Regions from separate parts of the Homo sapiens genome. Here regions 1 and 3 are each linked to region 2. Evidence: promoter capture Hi-C in human tissues and cell types (Jung and others, 2019). All regions are on one chromosome and are shown on one strand. Each heading gives the region's core, a stretch centred on a gene start or on the middle of the fragment in contact. The rest is flanking DNA. Distances are from core to core; before and after follow the strand shown. Region 1 overlaps RIC8A (RIC8 guanine nucleotide exchange factor A). Region 2 holds the start of B4GALNT4 (beta-1,4-N-acetyl-galactosaminyltransferase 4). Region 3 holds the start of HRAS (HRas proto-oncogene, GTPase).

What was found. The method cuts DNA at HindIII sites, captures the fragments that hold promoters and counts their contacts. A contact is called where the count stands out against the background at its distance.
Region 1: a contact is called between a fragment that was not itself captured here and the fragment with the promoter of B4GALNT4 in region 2, in 4 of the 25 tissues and cell types used here (H1 embryonic stem cells, IMR-90 fibroblasts, liver and 1 more).
Region 3: a contact is called between the fragment with the promoter of HRAS here and the fragment with the promoter of B4GALNT4 in region 2, in 1 of the 25 tissues and cell types used here (pancreas).

The regions. Positions count from the first base shown.
Region 1 is chr11:213,451-216,461 of GRCh38, reverse strand. RIC8A (RIC8 guanine nucleotide exchange factor A) reads right to left here. Exons shown (of 10, transcript NM_001286134.2): 10 at 1,349-2,232. The coding sequence ends at 2,112. It overlaps SIRT3 (sirtuin 3), which reads left to right. Exons shown (of 7, transcript NM_012239.6): 7 at 1-1,432. Among named protein-coding and RNA genes, the nearest start is that of MIR6743, 5.6 kb to the right of the region's middle. The HindIII fragment of the contact is 6,100 bases long and covers 1-3,011 here.
Region 2 is chr11:368,074-370,983 of GRCh38, reverse strand. B4GALNT4 (beta-1,4-N-acetyl-galactosaminyltransferase 4) reads right to left here and starts at 1,485. Exons shown (of 20, transcript NM_178537.5): 1 at 1,030-1,485. The coding sequence starts at 1,180. RefSeq lists an enhancer at 2,414-2,910. The HindIII fragment of the contact is 30,748 bases long and covers 1-2,910 here.
Region 3 is chr11:534,126-536,825 of GRCh38, reverse strand. It overlaps HRAS (HRas proto-oncogene, GTPase), which reads left to right and starts at 1,250. Exons shown (of 6, transcript NM_005343.4): 1 at 1,250-1,410; 2 at 2,451-2,614. The coding sequence starts at 2,504. It also overlaps a transcript of LRRC56 not described here. RefSeq lists enhancers at 591-1,298, 1,320-2,176, 2,177-2,700 and a silencer at 2,154-2,313. The HindIII fragment of the contact is 24,710 bases long and covers 1-2,700 here.

The DNA.
Region 1 (3,011 bases), core at 256-2,755, 150 kb after region 2:
TGCTGTGTTGAACTCTTCACTCTGCTGAAGCTCCTAATGGAAAAAGCTTTCTTCTGACTGTGACCCTCTTGAACTGAATCAGACCAACTGGAATCCCAGACCGAGTCTGCTTTCTGTGCCTAGTTGAACGGCAAGCTCGGCATCTGTTGGTTACAAGATCCAGACTTGGGCCGAGCGGTCCCCAGCCCTCTTCATGTTCCGAAGTGTAGTCTTGAGGCCCTGGTGCCGCACTTCTAGCATGTTGGTCTCCTTTAGTGGGGCTATTTTTAATGAGAGAAAATCTGTTCTTTCCAGCATGAAATACATTTAGTCTCCTCAAAGGGACTGCAGGTGTTGACATGAGTTGGAAAGGGAACCCTGGGATACGTGGCGTCCCCTCTATTGGAACAGTCTGAGGACTGAAGGCATTTGTCCCTGGATTTATTGGAGACGGCCCAGCTCCTCCCTCTGAAGGTGGTCACATTCTGTTGACTCTCCATACTCAGCCTCTCCTCCAGAAACAGATCTGTTCCAGAACATTCCAGCACTTTCTATCTGGCCTCCTTGTCCCCACACTACGCCCCCCCACCCTCGCCAGGGCTTCCTCTAGTGACACTGTTAGAGCTAATCTCTGAGACAGGGAAGGCATTACTCACTTAAAACCCAGGCTGAGTCCTGGCCACCTGCTGGATTGTGACATAGGAGGTGGAATCCACTGAACTGCTACTTCTGCACAGGCTCCTTCTCCTGGGGCTGTACCCAGGCCCAGCCCTGATGGCTCACCCTGTCAGGCACCAGCTGCTCCCTCCTGGGCTCTCACCCACCTGCACATCCTCCTTCCTAGCATCACATTACCTGCGTGTTTCCCCAGACAAAAGCACTTCCCATTCTTGAACCTTGCCTACCCTGGGCTGAGCTGACGGCAATAGATTTAATGACAGTGACTCCCAGGAAGGGGGTCCTGTGACTTTGCGCCTTAATAAGAACAAAAGGTGGAATTGGTGACCTAGGAAAACTGTTGAATTCTAAAAAGAATGAAGTTAGTTTCTAACCCTAGTTAATGTTCCTTTTTTATTTTTTGAGTCTTGCCCTGTCACTCAGGGTGGAGTGCGGTGTTATGATCTCAGCTCACTGCAACTTCCGCCTCCCGGGTTTAAGCGATTCTCCTGGGTAGCTGGGATTACAGGTGTGTCCCACCACACCTAGCACATGGGCATATTTGTAATAGAGACAAGGTTTTGCTATGTTGGCCAGGCTGGTCTCGAACTCCTGGCTTCAAGTGATCCACCCACCTCGGCCTCCCAAAGTGCTGGGATTACAGGCATGAGCCACTGTGCCTGGCCCCTTTATTTGATAATTTACACATACATTTTTGTCCAAAACTCTTCTTTATTTCAAGATGATGTTTCTGTGGCTATGTGTGGTATGTGGTATAAATCTCAATCTATGGTCACACGAGGGGCATTTTCCTTGTTGTAAGTGTAGTCTAAACCAGTAGGAAGGAGGTTTAATTGCCAAAACCAGCGAGAACTCGGGCACTGTGGATACTACAGTGGGCAGCTGAACGAGGACCAAGGAGAATGTCTAAGAGGCCTCCAGCCCTGCGCTCAGTGAAGACAGGACAGGAACAACAGAGCATACATACCTTGGAAGGGTGTGTTCTGATATACTCGTATGGAAAGTTCTGACAGGTTTTCTCCCTGGGAAGTGCAGCACATACCCCAACACACTGGCTCTGCCAGTGTGCCAATCCCAGATGGTGCTTGCTTTGTGTGCACCCACACCCAAACCCCTGCCCTCCCATATGCTCTTCTGTGTGCCCAGGTAGGCCCTGCCCTCAGGCAGCAGCTTCTGAACACATTCCTCTTGGCGCAGACAAAAGAAAGTACTTCGTCTGTGGAATTCGAGGCTGAGCCTGAGTTCTAGCACAAGAAGACCGTTGCAGTCCAGAGATGAGAAACTGGACCAGAGGCAAATCATGAACAGAACGGGAGTCAAGAGAAGGGGTTTCTAAGATGGAGAAGTGGGGGCGGGTGTGGATCCAGTGGGATGTGGCTTCCCCAGGTTGCAACCCCAAGGAAGTCTCTGGAAGCAGCACCAGTCCTGATGGGGGAGCAGAAGAGCTGCCATCCTCAGTCAGGGTCCGAGTCAGGGTCCGAGGAGAGCTGCTGCTCCATAGTCTCGCACATGGCATCCTGCAGGGACGTAAGATGACCCCGGGGACTCATCCCCATTGGCTGGATGACTCTGTTCCTGTTGGGGAAAGGTGCAGTGGGGCTGGGGAAGGGGCCCAGTTGGCCAGGCAGGGGTCCTACTCACCCGTGGCTGCTACCTTCCTCTCTACCAAGTAGGCTGCTCCCATTTACTGGGGAAGCCTGGTTGGACCTTCTGTTAACTGGGCCCAAACCCTAACTGCTGCCTCCTGGCTTTAAGCAGTTTCCTATTTTAAACATCTAAATTGGCCTTAAGCAGGCTCTTAATTTGGACACTGGGCCATCTCCAATAAATCTGGCGACATTAGTCTCTTTTTTTTTTTTGAGACGAAGTCTCACTCTGTTGCCAGGCTGGAGTGCGGTGGCACAATGTCAGCTCACTGCAAGCTCTGCCTCCTGGGTTCAAGTGATTCCCCTGCCTCAACCTCCCGAGCAGCTGGGACTACAGGCGCCCACCACCACGCCCAGCTAACTTTTTTTTTGTATTTTAGCAGAGATGGGGTTTCACCATGTTGGCCAGGATGGTCTCGATCTCCTGACCTTGTGATCTACCTGCCTCAGTCTCCCAAAGTGCTGGGATTATAGGCGTGAGCTACCACGCCCGGCCTTAGACAGTCTCTTAATTTCTCTGGGCCTCAGTTATCATCTGTAAAAGGGGCACAATACTGATCTCAATATACCCATCCCCTGGGGGATTTCCTCCAGGGCAAGTGATTTCAAACGTGAGCAATGCAACCTAATACCAGGATCCTAAGCTCTCCTCTGATCCTACCTCCTGGGGCTCACAAGACAGGATGTGGGTCAGCTCTCCCTTCTCCC
Region 2 (2,910 bases), core at 236-2,735:
TTAGGGATTCAGCAGTATCGGGGGTCTCTTGAGGGTGTGGAAGCTGTGAGGTATGTGGGTTGGGACAAGCCCCAGACCCTTGGCCTGTGTGGGTCCAGGCGTCCCGGTACAGGAAGAGAACACAGGGGCTTTGGCAGGTGGAGTGGCCCAGGAGTCCCCAGCCAGTATCATTGTTCTGCCCCCTCAGGACACCTGGCTCCCTGGAAAAGGCTCAGAGGCAGCCAGCTGGGGTCTCTCCTGGTCTGGGCATGGCACTAACCTCCCTCCTCCAGAGGGGGCATTCTGCCCCACCTTCTCCCCCAACCCCACCGCCAGGCTTTCATCTGCGCCTTCCTGTCTGGAATGCTCTTTCCCCCAAAGGTGTATGTCAAAGATCACCATCTCCAGGAGGCCCTACCCCGGCTGGCTCACCGTGACCCCATCTGCTTTGTTTGTGGGTTGGGGTTGGGAGAGTTTACGCCAGGCTCCCCAAGCTGGGCCCCATCCCTACGCATGGACCCCCACAACACTGGCACAGTTCACCGAAGGCGCCCCCGCCGGGAAGCGTCCCAGCTGCACCGGCCACTTCAGCAAGCCCCGGCCCGGGTCCCCAGCACACAGGGAAACTGAGGCCCTGCTAAGCGGGCAGGGGGTGGAGGCGAGGCCTGAGAAGGCCTCTTGGAAGCCTCAGCAGGGTCTAGGGGCAGAGACTTCCCCAGGAGCCCACCGTCAGCCCCTCACTACCGGATCCAAGCCAGATCCCAGAGTCAGGGACCCTCTCTGGGAGGGTCGCGCGCGTCACTGCCGACGTCATCGAGCGTCCGGGCCGAGCCGAACCGCGCCCCCTCCCCCCAAATCGCAGAGCGGAGAACAGCGGGCGGGGTCTCCGGGAGGGTCGGGCCCAGCCGAGACCTCTGTGCGGTGGGAGGCCCGGCCCGCGCCCCGGGGCCCCCGCCGCCCGCGCCGCCCGCGCCCCCCGCGCCGCCCGCGCCCCCCGCGCCCCCCGCGCCGCCCCCGCCCCCCGCGCCCCCCGCGCCCCCCGCGCCGTACCTCGCCCGTAGCCCAGGCGCTGGCGCAGCGCGCGTCCCTGGCGCACCAGGCCCAGGTGCACGTAGGTGAGCCACGCGGCGCAGCTCAGCAGCAGCAGCAGCAGCAGCAGCTTCATCTGCTTACGGATCTTCTTCACCGGGAGCCGCGGCATCGCGGCCGCCGCGCCCGCCCCAGGCCGCGCTCAGCGGCGCCGCTGCAGCCCCCGGCCCCCGCCCGCCCCGCGCCGCATCCCCGGCCCGCCCCGCCGCGCTCAGCGCCCGCGGCCCCGCATGGTCCTTTGTCCGCCGTGCGCGGCCACCGGGTGCGGCCGCGACCCCCCCAGGCCGCCCTCGGCCGCGGGCCCGGGGTGGGCGGCGGGGGCGGCTCCTCGCGGTGCCCCCCGCCCGGCCGCTCCCGGCTCCGCGCTCCTGGGGCGGCGGCGGGACCGAACAGCATCCACGGCTGCCACCGCGGATCGGGCCCCGGCCGCGCGCGCGGAACCAATCGGACCGAGCCAGGCCGCGGGGAGCCAATGGCGGCGCGCGGGGAGGGGTGCGGGGCGCGGGAAGGCGGGGCGGGGCGCGGGGTGCGGGGCGGAGGAGGCGGGGCGAGGGGAGGCGGGGCGGGGCGGGGGGTGCGGAGGGTGCGGGGCGGGGGGTGAGGGGTGCGGGACGGACAGGGATGCGGGGCGCGGGGCGCGCGTCCACCTGGGCCACGGAGCGCGGGGGCGCGGCACACAGACGCGGGGCTGGGAAGCGCTGGGGCTCGGGGACCGTGGGGGGCGGCGGGGGATGGGCACAGCCTGACTGTGGGGCGGGGCGGCCTCCCGAGAACAGTGACCCGAAGGACTGCAGGCGGACAACACGGAGGAGGGAGGGGAGGGACCCGGGGTCCTGGGGGGCGGGGAATGGGGGCGGGCGAGAGAGGCCGGGGGGCGGGGGGGCCCAAGCACCGGCTTCAGCCCAGGGGTGGGAGTCGTTGCGGGATCTCAGCCTGCAGGGCTGGGGCCGCAGGGGGCCGAGCTGTCTGGGCGGCAGGAGGGGCCTCAGCTGGTGGCCCCCGCCCCACCGAGCGCGGCCTGAGGCAGGTGACAGTGTCGTGCCTCTCACCGGGACCTTGTCCCACTTCGTGCCCTTTCTCACCTGGTCTGCACCAACCCCTGCCAGTCCCTCTGTCCCCCCAGTACTTCCCTTGTCCAGCTGCCAGCGTGACCCTACTCTTCTCCCTCTGTCTGCTCAGCTGTCTCTGGGTGTGTAGCAAACCGCCCAGCTTCAGTGCTGTCCAACAGCAGCGTTCCTGTGTTCCTGTGTCCTGTGGGTCAGGAACTCAGGGCACTCGGGGACAGCTCCTCTCTGCTCCTCGAGGTGCTGGCCTCCGGTGGGAAGACGTGAGTGGTGGGGCCGGCTCCGCGGGACAGGCTGGAGCCATCCAGAGACTTCTGCCCCAAGCCAGTGCACCCTCGGCAGGAATGGCTGGGCTCACCCCGGGTGGTTGGCCAGAGCGCCTGCAGGCTCAGCTGCCAGGGGCAGCCTCCCGGTCCAGCACACAGAGTGAAGCATCTTGGAGTCACCCCTCAGGTTTGCCACATGCCGCACGGCCACCCAAGTTCGTGGGTTGTGGGGACGTGGACCCCACCTCACAATGGAAGATTGCCCAGAAGTTGCCTTCTTAAGACCTCAACTCCTTCCCTCCTTCCCCTCCATCCTCCTCCCCTAACTTCTGAGCACAGAAGCAAGCTGGTTACATCCTGCTGTTCATACCGGCCCTTAAACAACACCCGGTCTCTCAAACCTTCCCCCACCCCATCAGCTCCTCATCTCCTGCCTCCTGCAGTCCACTTTTCATATTTCTGTTATCTGCATATTCATTAAAATATAGTGCCCCACCCCTTTTTGAGACAGG
Region 3 (2,700 bases), core at 1-2,500, 170 kb before region 2:
AGGCGGGCGCTGGACTGGGCAGAGGCAGGGTTTGCCTGACTGTAAAACGCCTTTTTTGTTTTGAGACGAAGTAGCGCTCTGTTGCCCAGTGCAGTGGCGCGATTTCGGCTCACCGCAACATCCGCCTCCCGGGTTCCAGCGATTCTCCTGCCTCAGCCTCCCGAGTAGCTGGGACTACAGGCGCGCGCCACTGCAGCCGACTAATTTTTTGTGTTTTTAGTAGAGACAGGGTTTCATCATGTTGGCCAGGCTGGTCTTGAACTCCTGACCTCAAGTAATCCACCCGCTTAGGCCTCCCGAAGTGCTGGGATTATAGGCGTGAGCCACCGCGCCCGGCCCTTTTTGTTTTTTAATGAGGATGTATTTCTGATTCCTTTGCAATTTTAAAAAATGTTAAAAACATGTCTTTTTGGGTTTGAAAGAGCTAGGATGTGCGTCTATGTGCTTGGGGTGAGCCCTGGGCACTTCGCTCCCCTGTGGCAACTTGTGGGTACGGTTTAACTGGACCACGCTGAGCTTCTGCAGCGTTGGAACCTCAAGTTTGGGGGGACTGGGCGGGCAGGGTCGCCTGCCACGCAGGCCCGAGAAAGAGGAGAGTGGTGGAGGGGGCGTTCTCACGCCTGGCCCCAGGGCACACGGCTGCGCCCGCCGCCCGGAACCCCACCGGGGCTGCAAGCGTCCTCGGGGTGGGTTGCGGTGGGAGTAGGGGAGCTGGGGTGCGTGGTGGTAGGTGGGGTGCGCGGCCGCTCCACCTGCGCGGAAGGGCAGCCGGGCAACCGGACCCCGCGGCCACCCGGGGGCCCCCAGCTCCGAGCATCCCGCCTTGGTCCCGGCGGATCCCAGCCTTTCCCCAGCCCGTAGCCCCGGGACCTCCGCGGTGGGCGGCGCCGCGCTGCCGGCGCAGGGAGGGCCTCTGGTGCACCGGCACCGCTGAGTCGGGTTCTCTCGCCGGCCTGTTCCCGGGAGAGCCCGGGGCCCTGCTCGGAGATGCCGCCCCGGGCCCCCAGACACCGGCTCCCTGGCCTTCCTCGAGCAACCCCGAGCTCGGCTCCGGTCTCCAGCCAAGCCCAACCCCGAGAGGCCGCGGCCCTACTGGCTCCGCCTCCCGCGTTGCTCCCGGAAGCCCCGCCCGACCGCGGCTCCTGACAGACGGGCCGCTCAGCCAACCGGGGTGGGGCGGGGCCCGATGGCGCGCAGCCAATGGTAGGCCGCGCCTGGCAGACGGACGGGCGCGGGGCGGGGCGTGCGCAGGCCCGCCCGAGTCTCCGCCGCCCGTGCCCTGCGCCCGCAACCCGAGCCGCACCCGCCGCGGACGGAGCCCATGCGCGGGGCGAACCGCGCGCCCCCGCCCCCGCCCCGCCCCGGCCTCGGCCCCGGCCCTGGCCCCGGGGGCAGTCGCGCCTGTGAACGGTGAGTGCGGGCAGGGATCGGCCGGGCCGCGCGCCCTCCTCGCCCCCAGGCGGCAGCAATACGCGCGGCGCGGGCCGGGGGCGCGGGGCCGGCGGGCGTAAGCGGCGGCGGCGGCGGCGGCGGCGGGTGGGTGGGGCCGGGCGGGGCCCGCGGGCACAGGTGAGCGGGCGTCGGGGGCTGCGGCGGGCGGGGGCCCCTTCCTCCCTGGGGCCTGCGGGAATCCGGGCCCCACCCGTGGCCTCGCGCTGGGCACGGTCCCCACGCCGGCGTACCCGGGAGCCTCGGGCCCGGCGCCCTCACACCCGGGGGCGTCTGGGAGGAGGCGGCCGCGGCCACGGCACGCCCGGGCACCCCCGATTCAGCATCACAGGTCGCGGACCAGGCCGGGGGCCTCAGCCCCAGTGCCTTTTCCCTCTCCGGGTCTCCCGCGCCGCTTCTCGGCCCCTTCCTGTCGCTCAGTCCCTGCTTCCCAGGAGCTCCTCTGTCTTCTCCAGCTTTCTGTGGCTGAAAGATGCCCCCGGTTCCCCGCCGGGGGTGCGGGGCGCTGCCCGGGTCTGCCCTCCCCTCGGCGGCGCCTAGTACGCAGTAGGCGCTCAGCAAATACTTGTCGGAGGCACCAGCGCCGCGGGGCCTGCAGGCTGGCACTAGCCTGCCCGGGCACGCCGTGGCGCGCTCCGCCGTGGCCAGACCTGTTCTGGAGGACGGTAACCTCAGCCCTCGGGCGCCTCCCTTTAGCCTTTCTGCCGACCCAGCAGCTTCTAATTTGGGTGCGTGGTTGAGAGCGCTCAGCTGTCAGCCCTGCCTTTGAGGGCTGGGTCCCTTTTCCCATCACTGGGTCATTAAGAGCAAGTGGGGGCGAGGCGACAGCCCTCCCGCACGCTGGGTTGCAGCTGCACAGGTAGGCACGCTGCAGTCCTTGCTGCCTGGCGTTGGGGCCCAGGGACCGCTGTGGGTTTGCCCTTCAGATGGCCCTGCCAGCAGCTGCCCTGTGGGGCCTGGGGCTGGGCCTGGGCCTGGCTGAGCAGGGCCCTCCTTGGCAGGTGGGGCAGGAGACCCTGTAGGAGGACCCCGGGCCGCAGGCCCCTGAGGAGCGATGACGGAATATAAGCTGGTGGTGGTGGGCGCCGGCGGTGTGGGCAAGAGTGCGCTGACCATCCAGCTGATCCAGAACCATTTTGTGGACGAATACGACCCCACTATAGAGGTGAGCCTGGCGCCGCCGTCCAGGTGCCAGCAGCTGCTGCGGGCGAGCCCAGGACACAGCCAGGATAGGGCTGGCTGCAGCCCCTG